Linked DNA regions of Homo sapiens: regions 1 and 3 are each linked to region 2. The links are contacts of gene promoters, found by promoter capture Hi-C in blood cells and fetal thymus (Javierre and others, 2016). All regions are on one chromosome and are shown on one strand. The core of a region is centred on a gene start or on the middle of the fragment in contact, and the rest is flanking DNA. Distances in the headings are between cores, read along the strand shown.

Region 1 (2,908 bases), core at 325-2,824, 820 kb after region 2:
CAAAGTGACAAAAGTACTGCCTAACTTTGCCCTATGTTTCTCCAACCCAAAAACTCAATCCATTTCTAAGAAATCCTTTTAAGGTATGGCTCCAGACATCAGTGTATCTTTTTAAAAATTCCTCACCCCACTTACCATCAATACATTTTTTTTTAATTCTACCTAGAAGCTGATGGACAACAGATTTAAATCCATATTCTTTTTTTAAGCAGGGCTCAGAAGACCTACTCTTGTCTAAGGAAACTATGGGTTCCACATCTATTTTGCACATTCCCCAACACACACACACACACACACACACACACACACACACACACACAAATTCAGAGCATCAAGATTGCTAATTGTATCTAAGCACGATTGCTAATTGTGGGATCCCAGAGCCACTCAGAATTATCCTAACCTTAGAGCAGGGATTGACTGGACTGTATACTAAATAAATATATACTGAACAAAAATATATATTCCTAAAGTCATACCCTATGCTCAGTTGCTGGGACATTTTTTTCTCTCTCTCTTTTCAACACAAAGTCTCACTCTGTTGCCGAGGCTGGAGTGCAGTGGTACAATCATAGCTCACTGTAACCTGGAACTCCTAGGCTCAAGCAATCCTCTTGCCTCAGCCTCTCAAGTAGCTGCGACCACAGGCGTACAACACTACCCCTGGATAATTTTTCTTTTTAAATTTTTTTGTAGAGACAAGGTCTCACTATGTTGCCCAGGCTAGTTTCAAACTCCTAAGCTCAAGTGATCCTCCTGCCTTGGCCTTCCAAAGCACTAGGGTTACATGCCTAAGCCACCATGCCCAGCCTGGGACATTTTCTTTATGGCATTTATTTTTATTGGGTCACCCAATTCAACACATTTACTGGGCACCTACTCTGTGCCAAGCACTATTCTAGGTCTTTGAGAAACATCACAGGGCAAAGGCAACAGAAAGATCCCTACCCTTTGGGATCTTATTTTCTAGTACATGGAAATAAGATAAATACACATGTATCTTGCATCTCCCTATGAGACAAAAAAGATCCAAACTAAAGAGAAACAAAGTAATAGCCTGCCTTCCATAAACATTCCCATATAACTAAATCCCACTTACGTGGACAAACCACCTTGTGTCTGTTTCCTTCTTCATTCAATAAACAAGATAATGCCTATCCAGTGAGAAACCCTATGCTAGGATTTGTGAAAAGGAGGTATGAAACAACAGTGATGTGGGTGAACAGATGGCAAGAAACTATTTACTATTTATTTCAGTTGTAAAGATTGGTTACCACCAAGGGTAAAGATAGATTGTTTTAAATACACACACACACACACACACACATACACACACAAAGGGAAGAAAGCAGTTAGAAAGGAGTTCAATTTCTTCTAAAGAATAGCTTACAGCTCAAATGCCTGTTTCTTCAACAAATCAACAGAATGAAAGTAATAAATAGGAGATTATTACAAGAGATACCTAACAGCCAAAGGCAATGCATGGACTTCATTTGAATCCTTATTCAAACAAACCAACTGTAAAAAGACACTTCTGAGATGATCAAGAACATCTGAATACAGATTGGGTATTGGATGATAGTAACAAAACTGCTAAATTTGTTAGGTATAATATGGTGATTATTTAAAAGAAATCTGCTTAGCAGTTACAAGATGTATACAGGAGTATTACAGGTTGAGTATCCCTAATCCAAAAATCTAAAATCCTCCAAGATCAAAACTGTTTGAGCTCAAAGGAAATATCATTGGAACATTTCAGATTTCATATTTTCAGATTAGGATGCTCAACTGGTAAGTACCATGCAAATATTCCAAAATCCAAAAATAAATCTGAAATCCAAAACATTTATGGTCCCAAGCATTTCAGATAAAAGATACTCAACCTATGTAAGTGAAAGTATATGATGTCTAAGGCTAACTTAAAAACATTCCTGACAGCAGGGCACAAGCTCACGCCTGTAATCTCAACACTTTGGGAGACCAAGGCAGGCAGATCGCCTGAGCCCCAGAGTTCGAGACCAGCCTGGGCAACACAGTGAGACCCTGTCTCTACAAAAAGATTCAAAAATTAGCCAGGCATGGTGATGCATGCCTGTAGTCCCAGGTACTAGGGAGGCTGAGGTGGGAGGATCGCTTGAGCCTGGAAGGTCAAAGCTGCAGTGAGCTGTGATCATGCCACTGCACTTCAGCCTGGGCAGCAGAGTGAGACCCTGTATCAGAAAAAAAAAAATCTATATATAGATCTAGATCTAGATATATAGATATGTCTATATATCTAAAATATCTATATATGTACACACACACACACACATATATACACATATTTATTTCACTTGTATTCACTTTGTCAGGAATATATACGTGTGTGTGTGTATATATATGTGTGTGTGTGTGTGTGTACATTCCTGACAAAACAGAGTTAGGACATAAAAGAAACAAGATTAGCAAAACTGTCAATTAATTGTTGAAACAGGGTAATGGATACCTGGGAGTTTACTACACTATTCTCTCAACTTCCATACATATGAGTGTTTCTTACAATAAAGTTTGTTTAATAAAATATAAAAGTTTTCCCAAAAACTGTTAATGGCCTAGGGAAACTACACTACAAGAAAGGTGGCAAAAAAATCTCACATCCAATTCCCCGTAACAGCTATTTCAGTCTGAACCTAAAAACCTAACCATAAGGTAGCACTAGGTGGCACTCACTCCCATATTCCAGGTCTACAGAAAGTTGAAGAACAAAGCCCAGGAATAGATACCTTTTTCCAAGAACAAGACACAACAACCTGTATCTACCTGAGTTATTTTTAAGACTCTGAAACTGGGCTCATAAAGCCTAGAAAGCAACTGTATTAGCCCATTTTCACAATGCTATAAAGGACTACCTGAGACTTGGTAATTTATA
Region 2 (4,556 bases), core at 1,314-3,813:
GAGTGTCATTGTCACTGTGGAAATTAGATTTCAGAAAGTTTTATCTTTTGTCTTGCATTTTCTCATTTTTAAAAAAGGGAAATTACTTACAAAGCATTTGCCTGTGGTCTAAAAGTTGAAGCTGTCATGATAACATTACCTGAAAGAAATATAATGGCAATTGGGAAAGGATACTCAGTTCTCTTGGAGATCTGAACTACATTTCCAGAATGTCCTCTCTAGATAGATTTCCCTATTATGGCCCCATTATTCACCACTCCATAACATTTAACTATTCTTAGGTATCTAACAGTCTAACTCAAATCATTGGATTGCTAGGAAGGAAATTAGGAACCATCTATTCCAAGCCCTCTCCCATTATAATAGATGAGATTATTGAGATGCACAGAAATGAAATAACTCACCGAAGGCCACACCAGTCATTGGCAGAACTTGAACTATAACACAGACTTCTGACTCCTTATGTATTGATCTATCTATTTGATCACTCTACCTGTGATGTATATGAACTGATACTAGGAGAAAACTTCTCCACAAAATATACTGATCTGAAGAATAAATAAACCTTTTTGCCAAAAGCTTTTAAAATAAATCATAGACCACCGGGGAACCATTGCCCTGATTGTTAGTGCTTTTAGAAAGTCTCATTTTACTATAAACAGCTTTGTTCTCTTTGCTTGAGCCATGACAGAGAGCTATAGTATAGATAGGCAGCCTATCTTTTTTTTATTTTTTTTTTGAGCCAGAGTCTTGGTCTGTCTCCCAGGCTGGAGTGCAATGGCACAGTCTCAGCTCACTGCAACCTCCATCTCTCGGTTTCGAGCGATTCTCCAGCCTCAGCTTGCCCAGTAGCTGGGATTACAGGCGCCTGCCACTGCAACCAGCTAATTTCTGTATTTTTTAGTAGAAACGGGGTTTCGCCATGTTGACCAGGCTGGTCTCGAACTCCTGACCTCAGGTGATCCACCTGTCTCGGCCTCCCAAAATGCTGGAATTACAGCGTGAGCCACCAAGCCCAGCAGGCTGGCCTGTCTTTTAAAACCCCAACTCACTTATTTCAAACCAAAACAACCCATAAATGTGTTTATTCATTTGATGTCTTCAGATTTGAGTAGTCTGTACAACTTGAACTCTACAACTTTCCCAGTTGAGCCCCAAAATAAACTGCATTTGGCCAAAGAATCTGTGTTCAACAGGAACCATTGCAAAAACAATTGCCCCAAATGTGTGATCTGATTCTGACTGTAGTTTACACCATTTTCCACCTCAGTATATCTGCATATCACCTACTTTCATAAGTGGTTAATTTTACTGTGCTGCAATTGCTAAGAGATAGATTCTCCAATTAATATACATCATAATGACTCCACACATCCATTTGAACAACTGAAATAAAAATATTCTCACTTGCAGGATTCTTGGAACTGAGCCTACTCCCCTGGAAAGCACAGCCAAATCTGGTATCATTCTATCCAGCCTTATCCTGGTTCCAAATGATTTGGCACAGTCTCCCTTCAGGGACTCCTTAGCTGAAAGTCTCCTTTTGATTTAGTCATCTTAGCTCAGAAGGAGAGAGGTGCTAGTATTCAGAGTAATAGCAATAATAACTGAAAAAATGAGTGCCTCACTCATGGGCTTTGCTATCCAGTAAGGCTGAACTTCGGTCAAAATTAGCTTTCAAAGGATCAAGGAACCACTCTGACCAGACTCTGAAGTCATCTGGGATACTTTCTCCTTTCCTATCCTAAAAAATGGCAGGGTCACAAATAAATTTACAGTATTCTCTGGGAGATGCAAACTGCTGTAGGAAAAGGCAAACATGAGTTTAAAGACACAGGTCCTAGATCCACCTATACCACTAACAAGCTGAGTGAACCTAAGTGTCTTCACTTCACTGGCTCTCAGTTTTCCTGACTGTATTGTGAGGGATTTGGATCTCTATGGGCCCTTTCAGCCCCCAGAATCTATTACCCTGCTTTCTACTATTTGTCTCAGTATCTCTGAAAGCTAAATTTTCCAAAGCAAGGATTTTATACCCAAAAATCTTCCTTCACGATGCAGCTAGATAAATTATACACCATAAAAAATTAAATTGACTTTTATTGGCCGAATATGTCAAGTTGTCCCAATGAGTCTCACTGAATATACTCTTCTTACCACTTTGTGCCATCTTCTCTGGTCCCACTCTCTAAAGAGCCCTCATCAAAGAGTGAGCTGCATCACAGACTCCATGCTCCTGGCATAATGAAGAGGACTGATGGCATTAACGTTAACTTTGGACTCTGGTCAAACTCAACAGTAATTATCTTTGCTCCTGTTGTAAGATGTCTGAGATGAGAAACCAGTGACAATTTTAATACAGACACTGGCCCCACATCCACCTCTGTTCTGATTTTTATGATCACACCAATCTTCCCACATGAAACCACCAATCCCCAGGTGCTAGGCATTAACTTACCCTGGAGCTTAGCTGGGATAAGCACTCTTGTTTCTTTGCAGGGAGTAAAGGGTAGAAAGCTTTACTCTGGCGGCATGGATCCTGCTGATAACTGACACATTTGTTGTTGAAAGAGGAAGTTGAGTTTATCTGGTGTCTCACCACAGAAACCTTATTTGCACAAATGAAAGGTAAGTCCCTTGAGCAAATGACGTTACTCAAATTTTATTTCTTTTTATTTCATTGGTGCAGAGAAATTCAAATAGCAGGGAGTCAGAGGCTATGCATACTCACACAATGGCTATATAACAGCCTTCCTCACCCTATCTCCTTCCTTGACAACCGACATATCTAGATTTTCACTGATTCCAGTAGGTTCCATGGTAAGATGAAATTTTCAGGAAAATCTAAAGAGTGTTTACCTAGTAACAAGAAAGCTACAGCTTGTGCAAGCCTGAGGGGCAAAGGCTGAGGAAACCTAAAAAATACAAGTCAAAATTAGAAACAGTAGAAGTACCTTTGCTTAAGTTGTTCCCTCCATCTGGAGTGCCCCTCTCCCAACCCCTTCATCTTGAGGCTCACAATTTAACACATAGTTTCATTATTTTTGTATATTTATTATCCCTTTACTAGACTGCACACTGCTTGAGGGTAAAGATCATGTCTGATTCATATCTGTATTCCCAATTTGTCCAGCACAAGGCATTTTCATGAATTGTTATTGAATGAATACATATGGGAATTAATAAATAAACAAATGCTCAAAGAATGCATGAATAAGTAAATGAACATTATTGATTACGGGGTCTCCCTCCAGTGTACTAAAATTCTGGTTTTTATGTACAGTGTATATGGGGCCTTCAAAACTATGTGAATACAGGAAGATCATACACTTGAGGACTACAGTGTCAACTAAGTCTGAGAGTAGTTTTGAGAAACGAGGTTTAAAATGCAGCACAAACCCCTGTTGGCGTGTAAGGGAAAGAGAAGCTGACAGTATTGGAAACTAAGAGCTTGGGATGATTGATGGAAATGTCATAACTTGTGAAGACTGGCATCATCCTGGCTGATGTATGTCAAATGAAACAAGTTTAGCCTTTCAATCCCCTTCTTAATTTTGATTTCAAATGTTTATTCAGCTCCTATCTTTTGTTAATTTAGGTTTCTGAATTGGCATCCCTACTGAAAAGAGAATACACTGACAGACCAACACACATCTCAGTCCATTTGGCAGTTGTGTTCCTCCCTATGGTTAGTGTGAGCCAGTTTTCCTAGGGTAAGATTCTTCTCTGAACAAACAAAAAAATTCCAGACCTGTTGAGCTTTGAAGGCAAACCCTGGGATCCAGAAATACAAGAAATCCTTTTCTTACAACTGGCTATGATCACCACATCCCAACTTTATTTCACAGACAAAACCTTCACATTGCGAGAAGGAAACCTACCAGTTTACTTCATTTCTGTCTTGCACGCAAGCAGCTTCTTCTGTCACTGACCCTAAAAAGGGAAGAAAAATAAAACCAGAAGTCAGTGTCCCAATTCAAATGAAAAATTTTAACTCAGGTAAATTTTGAGTGTTAATTATTGATATGGTTTGGCTCTGTATCCCTTCCCAAATCTCATCTTGAATTGTACTCCCATAATTCCCACGTGTTGTGGGAGGGACTTGAAGGCAGTTCATTAGAATCATGGGGGCAGTTTCCTCCAGTTTCCTCCATACTATTCTCCTGGTAGTTAATAAGTCTCATGAAATCTGATGGTTTTATAAGGGGTTTCTGCTTTTGCATCTTTCTCATTTTCTCTTGCCACTGCCATGTAACAAGTGCCTTTTTCCTCCCACCATGATTCTGAGGCCTCCCCAGCCATATGGGACTGTTAAGTCCAATTAAACCTCTTTTTCTTCCCAGTCTCAGGTATGTCTTTATCAGCAGCATGAAAACAAACTAATACAATTATAATGAACAAATCTGTGGAGAAACAAAGCAAGCTGATAACCTAACAGTCATCTCCAATTAACTTTTAAAAGAAAGTCTTTTTGTTACTAGGTACGACTTATGGTTTACAAATCATTATAAACTAAAACAAAGTAATAAGTACCCTAATTATAAGATTCTTAAAAG
Region 3 (4,674 bases), core at 313-2,812, 810 kb after region 2:
GGGATTACAGGCGTGAGCCACCGTGCCTGGCCCCCACCTATTTTTAAATGTACCTTGCAAATATTCAAAAGCAAGGGACTGTTACTAGTTTTACACAGAGGTTGGCCACAGTAAGAGTGGAGAAAGGCACTAGCTCAGCGTGGGAGCACGTGCTCTCACTGGAAACAATGTATTGAGAACACATGGTTCTTGGTTGGGGGGAGTTCCTGCCCAAACTTCAAGATGGCGGCCAGGTGGACTGCTGATTCTGATGAGTCTGATGAGGTGAGCTGCGCCACAAAACTGAAGGACCCGCTAAGCCTGGGAAATTAGTATGTATTTGTGTAAGTGTTTGTGAGGAGAGCCACTGGAGGGTTTTAAGGAAAATAATGATTGGATTTATGACTGAAAGGTCCGTCTAGCTGTGTAAGGAATGTGGGGGGACACTATTTGGGGAGCATATTTCTGTAATCTTGGTAAGGATGTTGGCTTGGACTCGTTAGCATAGTAGCACTGGATGGAGATGTGGAGACATGGATAGAACTTTGGGAGGTCACCCGGACAAGACTTGTTGCTAGGTTGAGTGTGGATTGTGAGGGAAAGCGCCAACATGGCTGCCTGCTCCGTTTCTGGCCTGGGTGAGTCACGGTTCCTGTTCCTGAGGGAGAATCCTAGGGCGTTGGTGGATGTGGAGGGTAAGAATGAGTTATCTGCGACATTTTAAGCCAGAGATAGTTAACTGATGCACATTTTTTGAAAGTCACTGGGGCTGGATGGTAGGTTCTCACGAAAAGTCATTCGGGCTGTTCTGTGGGTGAGGGGCTGGGAAGGGTGTAACTGGGAGGCAAGGAAGGGTCCTGTGTTGGCCTCAGCGGGGAGACAGGAAGCTGCTCCAGGGCCAAGAGAGGCTAGAGGGTCTCTAACGGGCCGAGTGAAGGCTTTAGTTTTTCATCAGTGTGAAATGGGCAGCCACGGTAGGGCTTTGAGTGTGACAAGGGCTGACCAAAGTCTTGCTGTGGGGAGAGCAAGCTATTGGGTAGGATTGTCAGATTTAGCTAATAAAAATCCAGGACACCCGGTTAAATATGAATATCAGAACAATTATTTCGTAGCATAAGTATGGCCTGTGCAAATCTGGGATATACTTATACTAAAAATGTATTCCTTGTTGATGTGACATTCAAACGTAACGGGTCCAACTGTGTTGGACCAAGCAGCCCTAACACCGACTGGGTCTGGAATTCCGGGAGGCCGAAAGGGGCAAAGGTGGTAGCCGTGGAGGTGTGAGGAGGGACCCCCGCAAAGGTGAGGTTGGCCCACTTGGTGCCCTTTGCCGGGAAACAACTCTGGGAAGTCGAGCTTCTCGGCCCCTCTACTTCTTTCAGGCCCCAGCAGGCTCCATGGGGAAGGATTACCTGCCTCTTCCAATACTGAACTCGGGCACCCCAGCGCGTCTCTTCCCCTGGCCAGCGGCTTGCTGAAACTCCCGCCCCCGGCGGCTGGCACGTAACCCCGCCTTCCGTTTCCCTCCTCCCGCTCCCCGCAGGGGTGGAGCCTGAGCGAGGAGCCCGCGAGCTCTCCTCTCTCCTCTGTCTCCGCGGATGACGAGTGGCTGGATAACATGGAGTCGGGCAAGATGGCGCCTCCCAAGAACGCTCCGAGAGATGCCTTGGTAAGTGCGAAGGATAAGCCGCGGATCGCGAAGCCAGGTGCAGCCAGGGACCTGCGAGGCGGGGCCACGCTGAGGGCCTGAGGGTCGGCTCGCACGCTCGTTTCAGTCTAGTCAGGGCCGTCAGGAGGAGAGGGTGATGGGGATGCGCCCTGGCCCCCGGGCCCCTATCTCGCCGCTTGGGCCAAGTCTTGCCAGAGGGTCGCGGTCCAGTGGAGCTTGCGGAACGGCTGCCCAGCTTTGTGTCCTGGGCTTCGGGCCCCTGCCTCCCCCTCGTCTCTAGCTATCTGCCAGCCCTGACTCCGCGTCCAGGGTTCTGATGCTACCTTAACCCGCCGCCACAGCCAAAAATGACAACCAGCTGGAGCTACTTACCTCTGCTGGAGAAGCCAAATTCTGTCTTCTCTTTGCCCCACACCCCGCCCCCAACCCCGCCAAAAAATAAAAATAAAAGTTTTCTGCAAAAGCGTACTATGCGATTTCGTGTGATCACTGACTCACTTGGGAGGGCAAGGGTGAGTAGGACTTTGGAGCCCAAAGAAGGGGAACCTTGTATCATAAATATAAATACTACCCTTCAGTGCAGCCTTGATTTCCAGTACCAAATTCTGCATCTGGTGTTTTTATTTGAATCCACAGGTGATGGCACAGATCCTGAAGGATATGGGAATCACAGAGTATGAACCAAGGGTTATAAATCAAATGTTGGAATTTGCTTTCCGTAAGTTAATGAAACACCAAAAACTTGCCTAACTTGTGAACTTGAAAAGATATTTTTATTGTAAGAACATTTTCTTTTATTTTCTTTTTTGAGACAGGGACTCGCTGTTGCCCAGGCTAGAAGGCAGTGGCGCGATCTTGGCTCACTGCGGCCTCCGCCTCCTGGGTTCAAGCGATTCTTGTGCCTCAGCCTCCCGAGCTGGGACTACAGGCACTTGCCACCACGCCCGGCTAAGTGTTGTATTATTAGTAGAAAGGGAGTTTCGCCATATTGCCCAGGCTGGCCTCGAACTACTGACTCAAGTGATCCCCCCATCTCGGCCTCCCAAAGTGTTGGGATTACAGGCGTGAGCCACCGCACCCAGCCTTGTAAGAACATTTTCAACCAAATTATGTTAACAGTATCATAGAATTCAGCCTAAAGAACGAAAGGAGCTCAAGCTAGGGGACAGTAGTATTCACACTGTGATATCTGTTTAAAACTGATCATATAGACAGGACAATTACTTATTAAAATCAGCATTTAGGCTGAGCACAGTAGCTTACACCTGTAATCTCAGCACTTCGGGAGGCTGTCGCGGGGAGGCCAGGAGTTTCCTGGGCAACATAGCGAGACCCTGTCTCTACAAAAACCCACAAAATTTATAAACCGTCTACAAATTAGTGGAAAGTTTTATTAAGACAAGTAGCCATAAATATTAAGCTGTCTTCATATGTTTAAGAAAAGATTGTTTTGTTCTTATAGGTTATGTGACTACAATTCTGGATGATGCAAAAATTTATTCGAGCCATGCTAAGAAACCTAATGTTGATGCAGATGATGTGAGACTGGCAATCCAGTGTCGTGCTGACCAATCTTTTACCTCTCCTCCCCCAAGAGATGTGAGCAAACTTTGATTTGAAGTTATTTTTACTTACAATTTTTAAAACTGTAGTTCTAATAAGGATTTTTTTTTTAAGTTTTTACTGGATATCGCAAGGCAGAAAAATCAAACCCCTTTGCCACTGATTAAGCCATATGCAGGACCTAGACTGCCACCTGATAGATACTGCTTAACAGCTCCAAACTATAGGCTGAAGTCCTTAATTAAAAAGGTAAGAAATTTTAGTCAACTTTTCTTTTTTTAAAAGGTGGAATATGATAGGGGACTTTGTGAAAAGCAAATTCCTGTAGCTAGTATAGTAGATTAAAGGTTAAGATAACTTACTAGAATTTTTTTAATTTTAAAAAATTTTCGAGCTAGATGGAACTTTAGTGTTCATCTAACTCAACAGTCATTTTTCACATCAGGAAGCAGGGCCTGAACTCATTTATGAAGTTAGTAGCAAAGCTAGGACTGATTCCAAGCCTCATAACTCCCAGTCTTTCCACTATATCATAGTTTTTTAGTGAGGCCTAATAACAGAGGAAATGATACCATCAGGAATTAGGCCAGCTTTCTAAAATATGACATAAAGCTCTCCCACCACTGAAAAAGTTCTCCCCATAATAGGCTGCCTTTTCTGAAGTTCCACTATAAGAGTTTTATTCTTTTTTGGGTTAAGAAATTGACCAGTTAAGATTAAAAATCACAAAGTAGTTACAGTCTTATTTGAATGGGGATAACCGCTATCTTAAACTTTAATACTGCATAAGATTTTATACGTATTCATATCTATTTTTATATAGATAGAGATGTATATATGTTTATACAAACCCCAGATTAAATGTTGGATTTAGAACACTGAGAGAACAAAAACAGGACTTTCTTGCCATGGATTATCCATAATCATTTACATCAGCAATCCTAATTTCATTCCTGGTAAATTTAGGTGTCACATCTTAACATTAATTTGTTTTTTAAATCCCCTAGGGACCTAACCAAGGGAGACTAGTTCCACGATTAAGTGTTGGTGCTGTTAGTAGCAAACCTACTACTCCTACTATAGGTAAGTGAGAGGAGACAATGGCATTTCTGGCTGGTAAAGCAGTGCCTCAGCACTTGGTTTTGAACTATAATGCAAGTCAAAAAGTGAATCAGAAATTCTTGTGTATGTGTTACTATTAATAATTTTACTCATCCTCTAGTAAAGCTATAAACATACATGTTACTGGATTTCAAAATGAGAAAGCCACAAGGAACGTCTGATCTCAAATGAATATAAAATTGGACATTGCCCCCATTGTTGTTGGTATAAACTCTGATACCAAAAACAGGAGTTTACTCTTAGCTGTGTACTTTACGCCTTCTATAAGGTGCCACACACACTTATGGCAGTAGACTACTTATTAGAAATTTAAATTTCCAAATACATTGATGAGAATA

The links. Contacts are between HindIII fragments. The CHiCAGO score rates a contact against its expected background, and 5 or more counts as called.
Region 1: a fragment that was not itself captured here is called in contact with the fragment with the promoter of P2RY10 in region 2 in 4 of 17 cell types (non-activated CD4 T cells, total CD4 T cells, naive CD8 T cells and 1 more); the score reaches 6.4 in non-activated CD4 T cells.
Region 3: a contact is called between the fragment with the promoter of TAF9B here and the fragment with the promoter of P2RY10 in region 2, in 8 of 17 cell types (naive CD8 T cells, neutrophils, naive CD4 T cells and 5 more). The highest score is 10.1, in naive CD8 T cells.

What each region holds. Positions count from the first base shown.
Region 1 is chrX:78,119,822-78,122,729 of GRCh38, reverse strand. The region is part of intron 6 of PGK1 (phosphoglycerate kinase 1); the gene reads right to left. Among named protein-coding and RNA genes, the nearest start is that of PGK1, 17 kb to the right of the region's middle. The HindIII fragment of the contact is 7,637 bases long and covers 1-2,908 here.
Region 2 is chrX:78,943,398-78,947,953 of GRCh38, reverse strand. P2RY10 (P2Y receptor family member 10) reads right to left here and starts at 2,563. Exons shown (of 4, transcript NM_014499.4): 1 at 2,459-2,563; 2 at 91-139. The HindIII fragment of the contact is 3,107 bases long and covers 2,520-4,556 here.
Region 3 is chrX:78,136,538-78,141,211 of GRCh38, reverse strand. It overlaps TAF9B (TATA-box binding protein associated factor 9b), which reads left to right and starts at 1,562. Exons shown (of 7, transcript NM_015975.5): 1 at 1,562-1,651; 2 at 2,288-2,369; 3 at 3,114-3,250; 4 at 3,329-3,463; 5 at 4,222-4,297. The coding sequence starts at 1,601. RefSeq lists an enhancer at 1,564-1,873. The HindIII fragment of the contact is 21,206 bases long and covers 1-4,674 here.